Regions from separate parts of the Homo sapiens genome. Here region 2 is linked to region 1. Evidence: promoter capture Hi-C in 16 types of primary human blood cells and fetal thymus (Javierre and others, 2016). All regions are on one chromosome and are shown on one strand. Each heading gives the region's core, a stretch centred on a gene start or on the middle of the fragment in contact. The rest is flanking DNA. Distances are from core to core; before and after follow the strand shown.

Region 1 (5,288 bases), core at 1,307-3,806:
ACCTAAGATTCCACCTTGGGAATCTATAAAAGAAGAACAAATTAAGATCAAATTAAACAGAAGAGAAAAAATAATAAAAAGAGCAGAAATCAATGAAATTGAAAACAAACTCAAAAGATTATCAACAAAACCTAAAGCTGATTTTTTGAAAAGGTCAATGAAATTGATTAACCTCTAGCCTGGCTAACAAAGAGAAAAAACAAATACTCAATATCAGAAATGAAATAAGGGACATTACTGCAGATCCCATGGGCATGAAAATGATAATAAAGGAATACTATGAATAACTGTATGTCCACAAATTTGATAACCTAGACGAAATGGACACATTTCTTGAAAGCACACTCTGCCAAAACACACAAGAGGAAACAGACCACTTGAATATGTTTATATCTAATTAATTGAATCAATAATTAACAACATCCACACAGAAAGCATTAGGCCCAGATGGTTTCATTTGATAAGTTCTACCAAATATTTAAGAAAAAAGTTGTACCAGTTCTGTGCCATCTCTTTTATAAGATAGAAACAAAAGGAATACTTCCCAACTGATCCTATGAGGCAAGGATTACCCTAACGCCAAAACCACACAAAGACATTACAAGAAAGAAAAAACACAAAACAATATATCTTGTGAATATAGATGCAAAAATCATCAATAGAATGTTAGCAAATTGAAACCCACAATGTATCAAAAGAATTGTACACCAGGTTAAAGCGGAATTTATTACAGCTAGGCAAGGCTAGTTCAATGTTCAAAAATCAATTAATATAATCCACCAACAGACTAAAGAAAAATCATATGATCATATTGCTAGATGCAGAAAAAGCATTTGACAAAATCCAACACCAGCTCATGATAAAAAGTCTCGGCACTCTAGGAATAGAGGGACACATCCTCCACTTGATAAAGAACATAAACAGGAACCTTACAGCCAACATAAGAATTAATGGTGAAAACCTAGATCGTTTTCCAGTGGAATCAGGAATAACACAAGAATGTCTGCTCACACCATTCCTAGTCAACACTGTACGGGAAATCCTAGCTAACACAGTTAGCCAAGAAAAAGAAATAAAAGTTGTACAGACTGAAGAGGAAGAAATAAAATGGTCTGTCTTTATAGAAGACATAATTATCCATGCAGAAAATTATGAAAGAATTGCCAAATCGATGTCCTGGAACTAAGAGGCAATGAGAACAAGATTGCAGATACAAAGTTAATGTATAAAAGTCAATTCCCATATACCTATAATGATCAAGTGGAATATGAAATTAAAAATGCAATACCATTTACATTAGCACCCCCCTATAAAACTTAGGTATAAATCTAACACGGTATGTACAAATTCTACATAAGGAAAACTACAAAATTCTGATGAAAGAAATCTATGAAGGACTAAATAAATACAGAGGCATTTTATATTCATGGACAGGAAAACTCAATATTATCAAGATATCAATTCTTCCCAAATTGATCTGTAGATCCAGTGAAATCCCAGTGAAAATCATGGCTAGTTATTTTGTGGATATCAACAAACTAATTCTAAAGTTTATGTGGAAAGGCAAAAGACCCAGAAGAGCCAACACAATATTGAACAAATAAGTCAGAGGACGGATACAACCCAACTTCAAGAATTACTATAAATCAACAGTAATCAAGATAGTGTGGTATTAGTTAAAGAATAAACAAATAGATAAATGGAACAGAATAGGAATCCCAGAAATAGGCACATGTAAATACAGTCAACTGACCTTTCGAAAAAAGAAAGGCAATACAATGGTTCAAAGAGTCTTTTCAACAATGAGCACTGGAACAACTGTACACCTACATGCAAAAACAAAAACAAATCCAGGTACAGATCTTACACCATTCACAAAAGCCAGCTCAAATGGATCATGGACTTAAATGTAAAAACACAAAACAATAAAACTCCTAGAAGACAAAACATCTAGATGACCTTGGGCATCATGATTACTTTTTAGATACAACACAAAAAGCATAATCCATGAAAGAAATAATTGATAAATTAGACGTAATTATTATTATTATTATTATTTGCTTTCTGAAAGACACTGTGAAGAGAATGTGAAGATAAGCCACAGACTGGTAGAAACTATTTGCAAAAGACATCTCTGATAAAGGACTGTTATCCAAAACACACGAGGAACTCTTAAGACTCAAAAAAAAAAGAAAAAGAATAACCCAGTTAAAACATGGATAAAAGATCTGAGCAGACCTCTCACCAAAGAAGATCTACCAACGGCAAATAAGTATATGATAATATGCCCAACATCATATGTCATTGGGGAACAGCAAATTAGACAAGAATAGCATACTACTACACACCTATTAGAATGGTGAAAATCCAAAATACTGACCACACCAAATGCTGGTGAGGATGCAGAGCAACAGGAACTCTCATTCATTGCTGGTGGAAATGCAAACTGGTACAGCTACCGTAAGGTTGGCCAAGAGAAAAGACGAGTATACTCAAAGTCAGGCAAGCAAGTTTATTGACCTGCCGGCCTGCTGCATAACAGTCAGAGGAGGCAGCCCAGGGTGTTTAAGGTGAGGGACTTATATAGGGCTTTGAGGGCCTAGGGGCTTTCTGAGGTTAGTCTACATCCTGCAGTTGTTTGTCACTTCTTGCCCCACCTGGCTTAGAGTACCAGGATGTGGTTTGGCCTGGGGGTGGATACAGCTGTACCTAAGTTCTGGTAACGTGAAGTAGGGGCAGCATCTCAGAAGAAATAAGCTGCAGGGCATTTAGGGGAGGGGGCTTGCTGCGTTCTTCTGTGGACAGGTTGTCTCTAAGAGCTACTTTGGAAGACAGTTTGGTCGTTTTTCACAAAATTAAACATTCTCTTCCCATGCAAGTTTACTTATAGTTTAACTTTGAAACAAAGTATAACAGTCCTTTCCCAAAACAAAACTCCTTACTGCCTGTGGACTAGACTGCCTAGACTGCCACAAGATTAGAAGTTATGGTAATTTTACTAAATCAAGATGTAGCTATTTTCATTAAACCAGTATCAATGTCTTATTTATTAATGGTTACACGAGCAGAGATCATTCTGTCTTGGGCTGGGTTTATAGCCTGTGCCAAATTTTGACACCTAATAGTATTTGGCAGGGTTAAGTATGAAATTGCTTGATTAATAAACGCAAATAAAAATGTATGCTGGCAATTCCTAAGACATTTCTAATATTACTTTACCAATAATTTTAAAGATAGCTTATTTATTAAAGATTTTACTTAAGTCACATAACTTGAAAAAGCATTTGACTAGTCTTTCCTTTTTCTAATAAAGTATTTGATGTAAATGCTTTTATTTTTTAAGACAATTAATTAGAGCTCTTTGATATATTTTCAGGAGTGCAACATTGTATACATAACATATAAATACATAGATGTATTAGGCATGCTGATAGAAGAAGTACATCTTACAGATTCATAAAAACCTTTTTTCTTTATCTTAGACTTTCAGATTCTTGATAACCTGTTTCACAGTGCTAGGCAGTAGTCAGCTAAATAGTCTTAAATTTGCATATTAAAGGAAACAACTCAGGTGAAAGTCAGATAGCAAAATTTACATTATAAGGTCTGAAGAGAAATTCTGTGAGCTAGAGGGAAATTAAAACAGATTTAATTGCCAATTGAACATAAAATTATAGAAATTTATCACTGGATTGTATAAGGAGACCACTGTTATTTAGATAGGGACTACCAATTCTTTTTTAACTGGATCTCTGAGCTCTGGGCAGAGCCCACACTGAATCCTGGGTCTCCAAAAAGGGAGAATTATTATGAGGCTAGACCACATGATGCTTTTACAGTGCACTTAAAACATTTTTGTAAACAAAGCATTTCTAAGTGTCTAAACTATACTCTTTCTTAAAAACCCAAGAGTAGCCTCTGTTGCAATAACTATTTTAGTAAAAAAAAAAAAAAAAATCGAGTGGAAACAGAATTGAGTCAATTGAGAACAAAAAAAGTTTTTGCTCAAAAAAAGACAAGGTCCTAGCAGAGAAAAACAAAAACAAAACCATGAAGGCCTTTTAAATATGAACATGCACTTATGCACACATACACATACACATACATTTTAAATATTAGCTTTTAATTAAGTTGACTTTTAACTATTGAGTGTCTTTAAAAATAAAAAATCTTGGGCTGGGTGCAGTGGCTCATGCCTGTAATCCCAGGACTTTGGGAGGCCCAGGCGGGCGGATCATGAGGTCAGGAGATGGAGACCATCCTGGCTAACATGGTGAAACCCCGTCTCCACTAAAAATACAAAAATTAGCCGAGTGTGGTGGCACGCGCCTGTAGTCCCAGCTACTCAGGAGGCTGAGGCAGGAGAATCGCTTGAACCCGGGAGGCAGAGTTTGCAGTGAGCCAAGATCGTGCCACTGCACTCCAGCCTGGCGACAGAGCAAGACTCTGTCTCAAAAAAAAAAAATTCAAAATTTTATTATTATATTTCAGCTAGGACAAATTGCTGCTATTTCAGAAGTACCAAGTATTGGTCCGGCGCGGTGGCTCACACCTGTAATCCCAGCACTTTGGGAGGCCGACGCTGGTGGATCACCTGAGCTCAGGAGTTCGAGACCAGCTTGACCAACATGGAGAAACCCCATCTCTACTAAGAAATTCAAAAGGCACATGCCTATAATCCCAGCTACTCGGGAGGCTGAGGCAGGAGAATTGCTTGAACCCGGGAGGCGGAGGTTACGGTGAGCTGAGACCACGCCATTGGACTCCAGCCTGGGCAACAAGAACGGAACTCTGTCTCAAAAAAAAAAAAAAAAAAAAAAAAAAAGCAGAAGTACCAACTATCAAACCAGAAAGGACTTGATTTAGGAACCAAACTTAGGCTGTCATGAAGACAGGAGAAAAAAAAAGGCAGAACCTTAGCTATTGAACTGCAGAGTAGGGGGACAGCCATTGCTTTCAGTTTGGCCTGGTTAGCAAAAAGGAGGCTTTGTTATGTAAATAAAACCCCTTAAGTAATAAAAATAAAACATTTTTCTTGCCGGCCGGGTGCGGTGGCTCAAGCCAGTAATCCCAGCACTTTGGGAGGCCGAGGCAGGCAGATCACCAGGTCAGGAGATCCAGACCATCCTGGCTAACACGGTGAAACCCCGTCTCTACCAAAAAATACAAAAAAATTAGCCAGGCGTAGTGGCGGGTGCCTTAGTCCCAGCTACTCGGGAGGCTGAGGCAGGAGAATGGCGTGAACCCGGGAGGCAGAGCTTGCAGTGAGCCGAGATCGCGCCACTGCA
Region 2 (5,560 bases), core at 2,096-4,595, 440 kb before region 1:
TTATAGTGCTGTTTTATACAATGGGTTTCATCTATAACATGCTTTGCAGCTTGAACCAGTCTCTGACCAAATTGAAGATATGTTCCCAAGTCAATACATTGTGTATTTGTGCACTTCTAGGGCACATTGCCAAACACAGAATAGCTGTGTCAAAGGATATGCTCAGTTTTAATTTTGACAAATATTCCCAAGTTGTCATCCAAAAACAGTCATGCATCCTTAGGGACAAGAATATGTTCTGAGAGATGCAATGTTAGGCAATTTCATTGCTGTGCAAACATCATAGAGCTACTTACACAAACTTAGATGGATGTAGTCTACTACACACCTAGGCTACATGGTATGCCCTATTGCTCCTAGGCTACAGACATGTACAGCATGTTACTGTACTGAATACTGTAAGCAAAGGTAATACAATGGTAAGAATTTGTGCATGTAAACATATCTAAACATAAAAAGGTACAGTAAAAATACAGTATCATAACCTTATGGAACCACCGTCATATATGCTGTCTGTCACTGATCAAACGTCACGATGCAGTGCATGGCTGTATGAGAGCAGCTGTTCCTCCACACTCTCACTTACACTGGACATTATCCATTTTTTTTAACCTTTGTCAATCTGAAAGGTGGAAAAGGCTCGTCTCAATGTGATTTTGATTTGCATTCCTTCACTGATGAAGTGTAGTTAAAATATTTTTTTCACGTGCTCGTTTGTGTTTTACATCTTTGAGCTGTCTGGAATTTATTTTGTCATAAGAATAGGACTTTATCTTTTCCAAATGGCAGCACTTGTTATTAAATAATTCATACCCAACTCTCAATTTTAGAAATAAAAGGAGGCCATCTCAATCTAAACCTCACACTATATACAAAAATTAATTCTGAAGGAATCATGGATTGAAGAGTAAAGCATAAAACTTTTAGAAGATAACATAGGAGCAAATCTTCAGTATTAGGACTAAACAAAGAGTTCTTAGGCAGGACATCAAAATCACATTCTGTAAAATTCAAAAATTCATAAATTGATCTTCAATGAAATTAAAATCTTTTGTTCTGTTGAAGATCCTGTTAGAGGGATGGAAACACAAGCTACAGACTGGGAGATAATATTTGCAAATAACCTACCAAACAAAGACTTACAAACAGCAATATATAAAGAACTATCATAACTCAATGGTTAAAAAATAAAAGAAAGAAAAATTCAATTATAATATGAGCAAAAGGCTTGAACAGATATTTCACCAAAGAGGAAATATGGATGGCAAACAAGCACATGACAAGGTATTCAACATCTCTAGGCATTTGTGAAATGCAAATTAAAAATTTAAACCACAATAAGGCCCAGCACAGTGGCTCACACCTGTAGTCTCAGCACTTTGGGTGGTGGAGGCGGAAGGATTGTTTGAGCCCAGGGCTTTGAGACCAGCCTGGGCAACAGGGTGAAACCTTATCTTTACAAAAACTACAAAAATTAACTGGGCAGGGTGGCACACACCTGTAGTCCCAGCTATTCAGGAGGCTGAGGTGGGAGAATCTCCTGAGCCCAGGAGGTTGAAGTTGCAGTGAGCCATGATCTCTCCACTGCACTCCAGCCTGGGCAACAGAGCAAGACCCTATCTCTAAATAAATAAATAAATGACGTCTGTAGTCTAGTTAACTGTAATGTCCCAACGTAAATTTCCTGTTTTCTACATTGTCCTACAGTTGTATAGATGTCTTTGGAGGACACTGGAGGTATTATTTTTGCAACTTCCTGTGAATCTACAATGATTCAAAAGAAAACATTAAAGAATGTTCTAATATAAAGAGACTTTGAAAAGATGAGAGAAGAAAACCAGCTTTGCCAAAGTCTTTCCCGTTGCACAGGTAGTTTTCTTTGGCGGTCGCTTTATCAGCAATAACCTATTAACTTTCCTTCCTCCAGAGACACATGACATACCATCCTTTTGAAAAGTTGCCAGTTGAATAGAAGCCGTCTTAGACCAGGACAGACAAAAAAGTTGCATTAAAAAAATGGTTCTAAAAAACATCAGCCTACCCTTTTTCCAGATTACCAACTGTTACCATTTAACCCATCGGCTTTATGGCGTGGGATCTATCAATCTGCATCCTTGTTTCAGAACCATTTGATGTAAGTTTCATAAATCTTGTGCCTTTGCTCCTACTTACTTCAGTGTTTATTTCCTAAAAATATTCTCTTGTACACTGACAGTACAATGTGCAATTTCAGTAAATTTAACATTAATTCAATACTTCCATCATCGACCTGACACTGAGACTCATGCCTGTAGTCCTGGCACTTTGAGAGGCCAAGGCAGGAGGATCACTTGAATCCAGGAAATCGAGGCTGCAGTGAGTTATGATGGCATCACTGCACTCCAGCCTGGGCGGCAGAGGGAGACCCTGTCCGTAAAAAAAAGAAGAGAAAAGACAAGGAAAGAAAATACTTCCATCATCTCTGTTCCACTTTCGTCTGTTGTCACGGTACCGTCCAGTCCAGTCACAGTACCGGTTGGACCAATCTGGCTAACCCATTGTTTAGCCAATGGGTTACATGTTAACAGTTGGTAATCTGCAAAAAGAGTATGCTGATGTTCTTTTGAACTACTTTTTTAAATGCAGTTTTTGCATTTGTCCTGGCCTAAAACGCCTTCCATCCGTCTGGAAACTTTTCAAAAGGATGGTATGTCATGTGTCTGGGGAGGAAGGAAAGTTAACAGGTTATTGCGGATAAAGGAACCACCAAAGAAAACCACTTCTGCAACGGGAAAAGGCTTTGGCAAAGGTGTTTTCCTTCTTTCAGCCTGGGGTCTGGCTGCACCTACTTGTCATGCCTCTTTGAGGTCGTAGATATTGCAGATCTGAGTTTGCACCATCTCTCCCAGAGAGAGAGAGCACCCAGAACTCTCACGGTACCGCGCGGCTGCAGTGACTGCGTGCTCATCCCCTGTAATTGGCTCTGACGGTCCTGAAGAGCTAACTGGACTGTTTGTCTTGATCGTCCCATCCCCAGGAGCTTCTCTCTGTTGCGGGTGGGTTGGGGCAGAGGAGCCCCGCTTTGGGGTGCGCTCCTGGCCTGGGAAAACGGCTCAGGGCGGAGGGAGGAGAGCTGGAGAAGGAGAGGAAATTGGGGAAGGAGAGGGAATTGGGGAAGGAGAGGGAACTGGGGAAGGAATCCCCTAGGGAGGAGCGGAGCGGGGCAGTGCTCAGGGCTCGCAGATCGGCGGGGTCACCTGGGGCTCAGGGCGGCCAATCCGCGGCGCGGCCCGTCCCGCGGCCAATGGGAGGGCGGCGCGGCCCGCTCCCCTGGGCTATAAGCGAGCCGGGAGGCGGAAAGTGAAAGCGGTGCGGGCCGGGCGGGTGCATTCAGGCCAAGGCGGGGCCGCCGGGATGCTCAGGGTTCCGGAGCCGCGGCCCGGGGAGGCGAAAGCGGAGGGGGCCGCGCCGCCGACCCCGTCCAAGCCGCTCACGTCCTTCCTCATCCAGGACATCCTGCGGGACGGCGCGCAGCGGCAAGGCGGCCGCACGAGCAGCCAGAGACAGCGCGACCCGGAGCCGGAGCCAGAGCCAGAGCCAGAGGGAGGACGCAGCCGCGCCGGGGCGCAGAACGACCAGCTGAGCACCGGGCCCCGCGCCGCGCCGGAGGAGGCCGAGACGCTGGCAGAGACCGAGCCAGGTAAGCGGCGAGGCCGGGGAAGGGGGGCAGCCCAAGGCGGACCCCCAGAGCTCGGGGTGCAGGGACGCGGGGCTCCGCGGCGACAGGCAGAGGGACCTTCCCGCCTCCGCAGCCACGCGCGCGCCCCCGGAATGAACCCTGAGCCCCAGCGTCAGGGCGGCGCAGGATTCTGACACCGCAGGACTCGCCCGGCTCCGTGCCCTCCGCTCCCTGGGGCTCAGAAGCCGGCGCGACTGCAGCGCCACCGCCCTCCACCGTCCCAGGAGCGGATCCCGCCCCGCGCCACCCGCGATCGGCGCCAGCCCCCCGGTAGTTATGAGAACTAATAATAACTTATTAACAGTGACAAAGCAGGGGTTGACCAGCAAAGCCTCCGTGTGCTTCCCAATCCCGTGGGCAGTAAAGCGGTATATTCGGGGTTCCCTCCGGTGTCCAGGAGAGAGAGTCCACTTATTTTCTTTCCTGTCACTTCTGATGAGGCGACCGAACGCCTCGTTTAGCGAAGAGGGAATTAAAGCCCAGAATGAGCCTGCCTCTGCGTCTCCAGTGGCACAAGCCCTCTCTTGCCCACCTGGATCCTAACACCGGATGTCTTTTGGTCTGGCCTTCCCGGGTATCTTGTTCCACGGCATTTTCCCTGCCTCCCTCTCCCGCCTCTCCTCAGCACACAGATCCAGAATCCCCATATAATTCTACTAGACAGTAGGGAGAAAGTTCAACCACGAAACGTCTCTAACTTTGGGTTCTTGATGATTCTTAGCAAATGAATGCGTAATAAACATATTTACTCACTCTTCACTCCGGAGAGCTCCTTAGTCATGTGAAAAAAGTGAAATGTATCCACGATGACAGTGGGCTGTTTGTTCACTCACTAAAGAGATAAGGGTGGATTGAATTCTGTTCTCTTCCCTGCTAACATGTAACTTTTGTCTTCCCATCCCTCCTTCCCCACTCTCCTTTCCAGAAAGGCACTTGGGGTCTTATCTGTTGGACTCTGAAAACACTTCAGGCGCCCTTCCAAGGCTTCCCCAAACCCCTAAGCAGCCGCAGAAGCGCTCCCGAGCTGCCTTCTCCCACACTCAGGTGATCGAGTTGGAGAGGAAGTTCAGCCATCAGAAGTACCTGTCGGCCCCTGAACGGGCCCACCTGGCCAAGAACCTCAAGCTCACGGAGACCCAAGTGAAGATATGGTTCCAGAACAGACGCTATAAGACTAAGCGAAAGCAGCTCTCCTCGGAGCTGGGAGACTTGGAGAAGCACTCCTCTTTGCCGGCCCTGAAAGAGGAGGCCTTCTCCCGGGCCTCCCTGGTCTCCGTGTATAACAGCTATCCTTACTACCCATACCTGTACTGCGTGGGCAGCTGGAGCCCAGCTTTTTGGTAATGCCAGCTCAGGTGACAACCATTATGATCAAAAACTGCCTTCCCCAGGGTGTCTCTATGAAAAGCACAAGGGGCCAAGGTCAGGGAGCAAGAGGTGTGCACACCAAAGCTATTGGAGATTTGCGTGGAAATCTCAGATTCTTCACTGGTGAGACAATGAAACAACAGAGACAGTGAAAGTTTTAATACCTAAGTCATTCCTCCAGTGCATACTGTAGGTCATTTTTTTTGCTTCTGGCTACCTGTTTGAAGGGGAGAGAGGGAAAATCAAGTGGTATTTTCCAGCACTTTGTATGATTTTGGATGAGTTGTACACCCAAGGATTCTGTTCTGCAACTCCATCCTCCTGTGTCACTGAATATCAACTCTGAAAGAGCAAACCTAACAGGAGAAAGGACAACCAGGATGAGGATGTCACCAACTGAATTAAACTTAAGTCCAGAAGCCTCCTGTTGGCCTTGGAATATGGCCAAGGCTCTCTCTGTCCCTGTAAAAGAGA

The links. Contacts are between HindIII fragments. The CHiCAGO score rates a contact against its expected background, and 5 or more counts as called.
Region 2: a contact is called between the fragment with the promoter of NKX3-1 here and the fragment with the promoter of CHMP7 in region 1, in 1 of 17 cell types (neutrophils). The highest score is 5.3, in neutrophils.

What each region holds. Positions count from the first base shown.
Region 1 is chr8:23,240,905-23,246,192 of GRCh38, reverse strand. It overlaps CHMP7 (charged multivesicular body protein 7), which reads right to left and starts at 2,556. Exons shown (of 11, transcript NM_152272.5): 1 at 2,349-2,556. RefSeq lists an enhancer at 2,363-2,864. The HindIII fragment of the contact is 15,350 bases long and covers 1-5,288 here.
Region 2 is chr8:23,680,723-23,686,282 of GRCh38, reverse strand. It overlaps NKX3-1 (NK3 homeobox 1), which reads left to right and starts at 3,345. Exons shown (of 2, transcript NM_006167.4): 1 at 3,345-3,679; 2 at 4,644-5,560. The coding sequence starts at 3,394. The coding sequence ends at 5,062. All of the region lies in intron 3 of LOC107986930 (a long non-coding RNA gene), which reads right to left. RefSeq lists silencers at 3,164-3,673, 3,714-3,763. The HindIII fragment of the contact is 16,626 bases long and covers 1-5,560 here.